Regions from separate parts of the Homo sapiens genome. Here region 1 is linked to region 2. Evidence: promoter capture Hi-C in 16 types of primary human blood cells and fetal thymus (Javierre and others, 2016). All regions are on one chromosome and are shown on one strand. The core of a region is centred on a gene start or on the middle of the fragment in contact, and the rest is flanking DNA. Distances in the headings are between cores, read along the strand shown. Region 1 overlaps LOC105370502 (a long non-coding RNA gene). Region 2 holds the start of ERO1A (endoplasmic reticulum oxidoreductase 1 alpha).

Region 1 (5,864 bases), core at 936-3,435, 520 kb after region 2:
ACGTGTGCATGTGTCTTTATAGCAGCATGATTTATAGTCCTTTGGGTATATACCCAGCAATGGGATGACTGGGTCAAATGGTATTTCTAGTTCTAGATCCCTGAGGAATTGTCACACTGACTTCCACAATGGTTGAACTAGTTTACAGTCCCACCAACAGTGTAAAAGTGTTCCTATTTCTCCACATCCTCTCCTCAATCTTTTATTCTTAAAGGGTAAGAGGCTTGTGAGAGGTTTACTTAGTTCCTGCACTCAGCTTTGGTTTGACCAAATGCATAACTGAGCTTCTCTTTATCATTCTGAGACTCAGCTGCAGCAACACTAGAGTTGGCAGTGTTGGCCGAGTACCTCTTCCTAGTACTGTACGAGATATTTTAATTCACATTTTGGCAAGAGGAGATTCCAGCATCTGCTGATTGAAACCCAGGATTCAGGGACCTGAAATGGATTATGTAGCCCGTTTCTAGTACAATGTTAAAACAGATCACTCCAAGTCTAGAAAGTTTTGTATTATCTGGGCTGCTTTTTTAAACACCAAGATCAAAGTTAACCCTATAAACATTCCTTACATTATGGCACAGATGTCTTTGTGAAGAGTTGGTAGAAATTGAGTAGAAGACTGGATTATATTTTATAGGAACTCTGGTGACTTACTTATAAGTTAAAGGTATGCTATTAAGATCTTTATTTTGTTTGAAAGAACACTCTCTAATATATCTTCTGTGTAGCTGTGGATTTTTATTTGATAATTTTTCTTAAAATAGATTTTTTTAAAGTCACCTGACTCTGCTTCTTTAAGACAGACTATAAAAACAACGGAAACCGGGCACGGTGGTTCATGCCTGTAATCCCAGCATTTTGGGAGGCTGGGGTGGGTGGATCACCTCAGGTCAGGAGTTCGAGACCAGCCTGGCCAACATGGTGAAAACCCGTCTCTACTAAAAATACAAAAATTAGCTGGGTGTGGTGGCGGGTGCCTGTAATCCCAGCTACTTTCAGGAGGCTGAGGCAGGAGAATTGTTTGAACTTGGGAGGCGGAGGCTGCAGTGAGCCGAGTTCGCGCCATTGCACTCCAGTCTGGGCAACGAGCGAAATTCTGTCTCAAAACAAACAAACAACAAAAAACAATGGAGCACTCTGGAAGTCAGCTTTTTAGGACCACATGCTGTGACATCTGACACTTGGCATCCTTAATGTTGAGGGCACTTTCTTTGGGAGGTACATTGGCCTATTTCTAAGAAAAATATATATCATAATTATTGTATAAAACAGTTACTGATCTTTTTTTTTTAAAGATGGTAGTAAGTTGAGAAAATTCAAGTAAACATTAAGTAAACTTTAAATATTAAGTAAAGCTTTATTTTAAAAGCTGTTAGAAGTTTCTTTTCTGGCTGTTTAGATAATGCTGGGTAAAGACATTATTTTACAATAAGTAAGTGATTTGAAGAGAATAAAATGATATATTTGGTATAATCAACATTAATGCAATCATAAATAATAGAAAACTCTCATGTTTGGAACACATAGTTTAGATTTTAAGGTAATTTGAATATATCATGTGTGATTACTTAGAGATCAACTATTCTCAGCCCTGGCTGTGCATTAGAATTACTGAGGAACATTTTAAAAATACTGATGTCTGGGTCTCACACTCGGAGATTCTGATTTAATTTGGGAAGTGGATCAGACTCTATATTCTCAGAGATCCATGGGGAAATTCTAATGTATAGTCAAAGCTGGGAACCACCAGTATAAAACCTTGCAACTTAGAGTGTGGGCCATAGACAGTGTTAGCCTCACCTACAGCTTATTAAAAATACAAACTCTCAGGCCCCACCTTAGACTTTCTGAATCAAAGTCTGCATTTTAAGGTGAGGTAAGGTAGCTGACACCTGTAATCCCAGAACTTTGGGAGGCTGAGGTGGGCAGATTGCTTGAGGTCAGGAGTTCGAGAGCAGCCTGGCCAACATGGTGAAACCCCGACTCTACTAAAAAAAAATACAAAAATTAGCCAGGCGTGGTGGCGGGTGCCTGTAATCCCAGCTACTCAGTAGGCTAAGGCAGGAGAATTGCTTGAGCCTGGGAGCAGAGGTTGCAGAGAGCTGAGATTGTACCACTGCACTCCAGCCTGGGTGAGAGTGAGACTCCGTTTCAAAAAACAAACAAACAAGCAAGTCTGTATTGTAACTAGGTTGCAGATTCATTTGCAACATGTTTTTCATAGCACTTTGACTTTAAAAGTGCTTTCATAGTCATTTTTCTGTTCATTTGTGTATTTTGTGTGTGTGTAGGGGGGGTCCATTTATTAAGTATCTGGTGGGAGTGGACACTGTTGTAGATACTGAGAAACATAAAAGTAGGAATAAGATTTGGGCCTCCCTTTCAAGTAAGTTGCAAAGGAGTGGGGTGGAGGTGGGGTAGAAACAGATCTGGTGAGCAGATTGGGACCAGAGATGTAAAACAGCTGTGCTATGGAGCTATTGATAGCCTTTTGGGAGGAGAAGGAACAGGGGATACCCCTCCCTTCTCTACCCCATCTTCACTCAGGGAGTGGGATTTGAGCTGAGTTTTTCAAATAGAAGTAGGCATAGGACTGGTGGTTCCTAAAATGTGATTCCTGGCCAGCAGCATCTGCATCCCCTGAGAACATGTTAGAAATGCCATTTGTTGGGCCCTTTCCAGACTTAATGAATTACAAACTGAGGGTAGGGACCAGCCATCTGTTTTGTATTTTTTTTTTAACATGCCCACCATGGGGGGGAGGGTGGGGGGGGATTATGATACACATCACCCAAGTTTGAGAACACTGGATGCAAGCATTTTCCATACAGAGAAGAGAGGAAGGAGCATTGCACACCATTGAAAAAGTATCCCCCAAATCAGAGGAAAGGTCATTTGTAGCATTCTGTGAAGTTTGTCATGGCTTGAACTTAAAGTAAGTTGAACATAGTAAGCTGACTATACTAGGAATTTCCCCCAAATTTTGCTCAGATCCATGTATTTTTATTGTTCCGGAAAGCTTAATCTTTCCCTTTTAGGTCATTGGATCATTAATTACATTTAAAGAAAAAGCTTTGTGTTTGGTTGTATTTATTTATTTTTCTGAAAATTAAATTATGAAGTTGGCTGAACACTTTTTTTTATAATTGGAATGTTATAACTAGAAGATTTCTGTAGAAATGCATGGGAAGACTGAAGCATAGGGACATCCCTATTTGCCTTTAAATAAGCCTAGTTTAAATGGTCTTTCTTGGAGTGTAGCTGAATTTACATTGTCTGTGATCTTCTGTGATAGAGTGAATCCATATGAACCAAAACCTCCAGGTCCAAACAACTTTAATAATGTTAGTTTTTCCCATTTATATATTTTCTTGTCATAATAACCAGCATAGAGCAAACATTTTTTACTTTCCTTTTTCTCCTTCTCAAGTTGAACTGCTAATTGGCACCTTGGAGGCCAACGGGGGTCACCGAAGGGAGGAAAAGGGCTGGATAATGAATCAGGAAATAGGGTTCAAAGGGAATTCCCATTCCAGTGCTGGAAATAACCATAGAGATCACACAATCCAGCCTTTTCACATCAGAGGCCTCTGAGAGCTTAAATGAGTTGCCTAGGGTCACATTGTAATGTAGGAGCTGGAAACAGAAACCATGTTTCCCAACTCCTTGCTGAGTGTTCTTTCTACTGCTTCATAGATAGAGGTAGACTGTATCCTCATGGGGAAACACACACACTATGTGGGTGTTGCTGTAGAACATAATGATTGATTTTTCCCTTTGCCATGTGTAAGGGGCTAGTAATAGACCAGATCTCATCCAATTTGATAGCTTTAACTATATGTAAGGTACATGGATGTTCTTTGGTCAAGGTTAGGCCAAGGCAGACATCCAGGCCTGCATGATTCAGTGGGTTTAGGGTGCAGGCTCATACTCCATTTGTTATCACCTGTTTGTGTAAGTTCATTCTTGGCTTGGAGCTGCTGTTGTCTTTAAAAGGTATAACTGCCCGGCTGACAGTATTGCATGGGGCTTGGCTCTTAGGCATGGCTCAGCATGGCTCTTGTACTGGTGCCCAGAGAAACAGAGAGAGAACCAGAGCTGTCTTTCTTGTGGATGGACAGAGGGGAGCCAGGTCATGGCTTGGCTTGTCTCTCGTGCCCAGGGAAACAGAGAAAGAGTTAAGCTGCTGACCCTGAAAGCAGGGGAGAACCGGCTGTGCAGCTGTGTGTGTGGGAGCAGTTCAGAGCAAGCAGCCGAGACAGGGAGGACAGTGCGAGAGAGACAGTGTAAGTAAGCTGCTGATGAGAAAGCTGTTGATGAGAGCTGCTGCTGAATAAAATCATCTTTCACCTGCCTAAGGCTCCCTGAGTGTTCTTTCTCTTCATCCATCTACTCTCTTTGGACCTCAACATGACAATTGGCATAGTCATGAACCTGACACTATATATTGGTTGTTATGTCCCAAATCATCTTTGAAATGAATTAAAGTGTGAATAGATAATAAAAAGCAAATAAAATCAATCAACCCAATACTGACTTCCCTACTAAGGCCAAGGTTATATATCTAATAGCCTCCTGAACAGGTGTACCTGGACATTTCATATAGGCATTAAAAAATAAACATTTCCCAAATTGCATATTTACTCACCTAAAACTTGCCCCCCACCTTTAGATTCTGTCATTGTTTACTCAGAACCTTGAGAATCATCCTCAACTCTTCCTTTTTCTCTCACTTCACATGTACACTCAATCACTAGCTTTGTCAATTTTATCTCCTGTCAACCTTAGCTCTTAAACAGTTTTCAAGTCCAATGTGTTCTCATCACTTGCACTTCCACTGCCCTAAATCAGTCCACTAATACCCCTTATCTGGTCTATTGCAATGGTCTTCATCCTGGTTTTTCCTCCTCCAGGCTTGTGGTTGAAAGTTTCTCTTTCATACTGTTTTCAGCATGATCTTTCTAAAGCGCAAAGCAGACCACACCATAGCCTATTTTACAATAACCCTCCATCACTGATAAGACAAAACTTTAGAATGGCACAGACAACTCTATAATTTGACCTCTGCTTATAACGTTATGTCCATCTCTGGTAACTCTTATCTATATACCCATGTCCATCAAGATGAGACTACTTGTAGCTACCAAAACATCTTATTCACCAACTTATTTGACTGCCTGGTGAAAGCTTGTTCATTCAGAACACAACTCAGACATCACCATTTCATTGACATTGTCTCTGACATCTCCCCACTTTCCTCCAAAGCTAGAGTGAATTGCCTTCTCTGTACCTCTGAGCCTTACACATCTTTACACTTGCATATAATTTTCTTCAACATTTTATGAGGAAAATTTTCAAGCAGAAAAGTTGAAAGAATTTTGCAGTGATCACACAATTAATGTTTTATTGTGCTTACTTTGTCACATCTCTCTCTCTATCCATCAATCCACGTTTTTAGAAAAATGCTTTTCAAAGTAAGTTGCAGATATCGATATACTTTTTTCCAAATAACTCAGAATACATATCACTCAGAGTTCCTACATAACATATAGAGTTCTATATTTGTTTGTAATTCTTATTTTAAAATTTCATGTTAAATTTATGTACAATGAAATGTGAAATGCACAAATCTTAAGTGTACCATGAGATTCACTAAATCATACATGTGAGTAACCTACACACCTATCAAGATATAGAATATGACCCTGACCCTGAAAACTGTACTCAAGCCCCTTTCCAGGAAGTCTTCTCTTCTAGAGGCAGTGACTATTCCAATTTTCTTCCAACTAGTTTTGCCTGTTATAGAACTTTATATAAATTGAACTGTACAGTATATTCTCTTTCATGTAAGACTTCTTTTACTC
Region 2 (5,317 bases), core at 451-2,950:
AAAGAAAAAGAAAGGGGTTTAACAGAATTTTATGTTAGGGAAGTATTTGAATATGAGGGTATTGTGAAAGAGGAAAAGTTTAATCACTAGTTAGAAGAAAAAGAAAATAAATGCAAAGAATTTAAAGTTCTATTTTAAGCAGAACTCCAAAAAGGTTATTAAGGAAAAAAAAAGTAAAAGTTGAAGAGTTCAACATGTACTTTTATTCCAGTATCCAAATCTCCAGAATGTAGCTGAAAATGTTACATTGGACATCTTCTTTCCGTAAAGAATATTTTATTTTAAAGTCACTTATTTCTATCTTATTTTTTAAATGTTTAATCTCGGTGTTGCGTTATATTTCTAATCAGAAGAAAAATGACCCTTTTCCTTTTAAGTACTTGATTGTGTGTCCTTTGTAATGATTGAAGGTAAAGGACTTTTCAATGTCTCAGTTGTAAAGTAGCAATTTTCTTTCAACTTCCCTTAGTTTCCTAGATAACACTCACCTCAACTCCCAAATCACTCAGCAAAACAACAAAATCCAAGAATGTAAAGTAGTGAAAGAGAAACCTTTCATAATATTTAAATGCATCTTTCCTTTGACATGGTATCATGCCCCTAAACACATAAAATGGTATTTCTGATAATAAATTAATAGCAAAATCCACTTAGGAATAACATGGATGCCTAACCCTTAATTTTGTATAAAACGTAATTTTTATCAACAGAGTCAACCAAAAAGTGGCTTTGACAAGAGTAATCACATTGAAATACTAGATACTGAAGATAATGGAAAACTGTAAGTTTCTCTCAATTTTTTGCTCAAGAAACCACATCTCTTACAGAAGGAAATGATCATAATCCGCTTGTAATTAAACTTGTGCACTGAAGAATAAGGACCTTCCTCCCAATTCGTACCAGCTTAACGGGTGTCACGATAAGAGAATCTCATTACATTCGAGAAAAAGAGCACACAGGACCAGAAACCAGAGGGCAACTGCAGTCCCAAAGACATCAGGTAGTTGGGCTTACACACAGAAAAACCGCAAGCAGCCATTCTTCCGCCTAACATCGAAATCTGAGATCAGCCCACAAACGTCTTAGCCAGAAAGGCTGGCGAAATGCACGCAGCACAGGTACTGGGTACACAAGTTCCTGGTCAAGAGAGAAGTGAGAAAGATCCAGGTTCTGTGAAAATAGCAAATACTGGCAGGGCATTATACACTGTGCACACTCTCCCCGGGCAGATAAGACCAACAAAGATGCATAAACCCACTCAACCGCGTGCACCCAACCCCTCTCCTGGTCCGAGGCACCGGAGGGCGCGGCGACGTCCAGGCTGCCGTGGAGGCCCGGTCCACGCCAAGCCAGACTCAGTCCCGGCCACCGGGCAGCAGCACCGGAGTCTCATTCCCGGTGGGAAGAGATGCAAGGACGCACCCCCAGCCGCTCACCCGCCAGGGCGTGCGGGACAGTGCACGCCGCGGAGGGCGCCGGGACCCTCAGCACCAACGCGCACATCGCTCACCTGGCAGAAGCACCTCTGTGCCGCTGTCTCCGGGGGCTGCTCCTCTCCGTGGCCCGAGCTGAGCAGCCACACGGCGCCCAGGAGGCCAAACAAGAATCCCCAGCCGCGGCCCATTGCAGCTCCGGCAGCTTGTCGCCCCACGCTTGGGAGGCCAGTCCGCACGCTCGGTCGCGGGCCGTGCGCCCTCAGATGAAGCCCGTGCGGGCCGGCCCCAGCGGCGCCCCACCTCCGGGCCGCCTCCCAGGCCCGCCTCGGCCCTCCTGCCTCTCAGCGATCGCCACCTCGCGACCCAGCCTGTGGACGTGCCGCGGCGCCCGCGCCGGCAGCCCGGGGCCTCGGACCGGTTCCTTCCCGCCGCGTGAGGCTGACGCACCGACCAGCTTCCCGGCTCGGCCCCGCCCGGTCCGCTGCGCCCGCGCCCGTCCCCGCCCCCGGCTCCCTGACGCCCCCGGCCTGGAGACGCAACCCGACGCGCACAACCCCAGACCCTGCGCGGGAGTCGGGGGTCCTTCCAGTTCCCAGAGCGAGAGCGAAAGCCGGAGGGGCCTGTGTTTTCCTGCGGGGTTGGGGGGCGGGGGGTGCCCGCCCCGCGCCGCCCCGCCCAGCCCCAGCCCGCTCACTCCCGGCCAATCCTTCCGTATCTCAATGCGAGACAATCAAATCGTACGAATTACGTGTCCACCGTGTTCCCGGCGGAGTCTTAAAGCTGAAAGGGATATTAGAGAGCATCTAGACCAGGGCAGCATATGTCATTTATATTTTTAGTAGCCACAGCAAAAGAGTAAAAATAACAGGTACATTTTATTTTTAAAATATTTTTATTTAACCCCGAATGTGCAAAATATTATTTCAAAATATAACCAACATTAAATTTATTCATAAGATATTTGACTTTTTTTGTCTTTGAAATCCAGTGTGTATTCGATGCGAACTAGACCCATTTCATAGTCAAATGTGGCTGGCTAGTGCCCACTGTATTAGACAGCGAGGGTGGAAGCCACCCGCTCATATCATAGGAAGAAACAGGCCTAGAGAAGTGAGGTAAGGTGAGCAAGGATTGGAGGTCCTCTGATACCCAGTCCTGGTCTTTTAACATTCAGAGTTGGGACTAGTCTATCCGCTTTTTTTTTTTCCAGACAGGGTCTCCCTGGGTCACCCAGGCTGGCCTGCAATGATGCGATCGCAGCTCACTGCAACCTCGAACTCCTGGGCTCAAGCGATCCTCCCACCTAAGCCTCCTGAGTAGCATGAACTACAGGCGTGCGCCACCACGCCTGGCTAATTTTATTTTTAGTAGAAACGAGGTTTCACCATGTTGCCCAGGCTGGTCTCAAACTCCTCAAGAGCGATTCTCCCGCCTCAGCCTCCCAAAGTGCTGGGATTACTTTTTTTTTTTTTTTCGAGGCGGAGTCTCGCTCTGTCGCCCAGGCTGGAGTGCAGTGGCGTCATCTTGGCTTACTGCAATCTCTGCCTCCCAGGTTCAAGAGATTCTCCTGCCTGAGCTTCCCCAGTAGCTGGGATTACAGGCGTAAGCCACCACACACTCGGCTAATTTTTGTATTTTCAGTAGAGAAGGGGTTTTGCCATGTTGGCCAGGCTGGTCTCTAGCTCTGAGCTCAGGTGACCCACCCATCTCAGCCTCCCAAAGTGCTAGAATTGCAGACATGAGCCACCGCACCTGGCCTTACTTTTTGTTTTTTGTTTGTTTGTTTGTTTGTTGTTTTAAGAAGACTTTTTTTTGAGACACTCTCACTTCCTCACCCAGGCTGGAGTGCAGTGGCGCAATCTCGGGTCACTGCAACCTCCGCTTCCCGGGTTTAAGTGATTCTTACGCCTCAGCTACCCGAGTAGCTGGGATTACAGGCCTGCGCCACCATACCCAGCTAACTTTTGTATTTTTAGTAGACATGTGGTTTCACCATGTTGGCCAGGCTGGTCTCGAACTCCTGACCTTAAGTGATCTGCCTGCCTCTGCCTCCCAAAGTGCTGGGATTACAGGTGTGAGCCACTTCACCAAGCCTAAGAAGGTAGTTTCTAGGTGAAACTGGCAGCTTTCCGACATCTTGCATGCACATTAAAAGTTGAAATAGTTCAAATGACTTAAACTCATGTATTTTACTGCAAACCCTAGAGCTCTGCCTATCACTGCCAAGTAGACATGTAGTAAAAGTCAACAACCCATCTGAGATCCTGATGGACCTGAGAAGCTCTAATTCTAGTATCTACAACATGTCACATGTACATATTAATACAATCTCCCTCCTAACCTGAAAGCTTTTTTTTTTTTTTTTCTTTTTCTTTTTTTTTTTTTTTTTGAGATAGATTCTCACTCTGTCGCCAGGCTGGAGTGCAGTGGCGCAATCTTGGCTCACTGCAAATCCAGCTCCTGGGTTCAAGTGATTCTCCTGCCTCAGCCTCCTGAGCAGCTGGGACTACAGGCGCGTGCCACTACGCCCAGCTAAGTTGTTTGCATTTTTAGTAGAGACAGGGTTTCACCATGTTAGCCAGGATGGTCTCAACCTCCTGACCTCGTGATTCGCCTGCCTTGGACTCCCAAAGTGCTGAGATTACAGGCGTGAGCCACCGCACCTGGCCAAAAGCTCTTTTTCATATTCCTATATACAGGCCCCAGTTATCCTTTTTAGGGCCAGACCCAGGTCATGTTCTCCCTGTCTTAAGTCGTCTTCCTGGTTTCCTCCTAACCCAGTTCCAGTCTCTCAATGATTTCAATTCAGTAAACTTACTCTGTGACAAGCTGAGCTTGACATTTGGGATACAAAGATGTATAAGGTCCAGTTCCTACACTTGGAGAGACATCCATGGAACTTAGTATGTACTTTTTAAAAAATATTTAATTGACAAATAATAATTGTGTATATTTATAGGATACAATGGGATGTTTTGATCTATGCATACATTGTAGAAAGATTAAATAAAGCTTATTAACAGATACATTGCCTCACCAACTTTTCATTTTTCATTGATGAGAACATTAAAAAATTATTCTTTTAGCAATTTTGCAATTCTTATTAACTGTGGTCACCATGCAGTGCATTAGATCACTAAAACTTATTCCTGCAGTCTAACTGAAACTTTGCACTTTGACCAACATCTCCCCTTTCCCCATCCTCCCTGCCCACCGGCCTCTGGTGACTACCTTTCTACTGTTTCTATGAGATAAACTTTTTTAGATTCCACATGTAAGTGAGATTATGTGGTAATTGTTTTCTTGTGCCTGGCTTATTTCACTTGGTATCATGGCCTCTAGGTTAATCCATATTGTCACAAATTACAGAATTTCCTTTTTTTTTTTTTTTTTGAGACGGAGTCTCGCTCTGTCACCCAGCCTGGAGTGCAGTGGCACGATCTCGCTCACTGCAAGCTCCGCCTCCCGGGTTCACGCCATTCTCCTGCCTCAGCCTCCCAAGTAGCTGGGACTACAGGCGCGCCCGCCACCACTCCCGGCTAATTTTTTTGTATTTTTAGTAGACACGGGATTTCACCATGTTAGCCAGGATGGTCTCGATCTCCTGACCTCGTGATCCGCCCGCCTCGGCCTCCCAAAGTACTGGGAATAATTTCCTTCTTTATGGCTGTATAGTAGGCATATATATACAAGATTCTCTTTATCCATTCATCTGTCGATGAACACTTAGGTTGTTCCTATATCTTGGCTATTGTAAATAATGCAGAAATGAACATGGGAGTATAAGAAACAAATCAATGTTATGAAAATAGTCTGATTTTTAAAAAGCAGCAAAGGTTCTGAACAGTTATTTTTCAAAAAAAGACATACAAATAGCCAAC

Evidence for each region. The method cuts DNA at HindIII sites, captures the fragments that hold promoters and counts their contacts. A CHiCAGO score of 5 or more calls a contact.
Region 1: a fragment that was not itself captured here is called in contact with the fragment with the promoter of ERO1A in region 2 in 1 of 17 cell types (M2 macrophages); the score reaches 5.8 in M2 macrophages.

Annotation. Positions count from the first base shown.
Region 1 is chr14:53,210,373-53,216,236 of GRCh38, forward strand. The region is part of intron 5 of LOC105370502 (a long non-coding RNA gene); the gene reads left to right. Among named protein-coding and RNA genes, the nearest start is that of DDHD1-DT, 60 kb to the left of the region's middle. The HindIII fragment of the contact is 1,664 bases long and covers 1,354-3,017 here.
Region 2 is chr14:52,693,858-52,699,174 of GRCh38, forward strand. ERO1A (endoplasmic reticulum oxidoreductase 1 alpha) reads right to left here and starts at 1,701. Exons shown (of 16, transcript NM_014584.3): 1 at 1,511-1,701. The coding sequence starts at 1,624. RefSeq lists enhancers at 1,226-1,727, 1,333-1,382 and a silencer at 1,633-2,172. The HindIII fragment of the contact is 13,242 bases long and covers 1-3,782 here.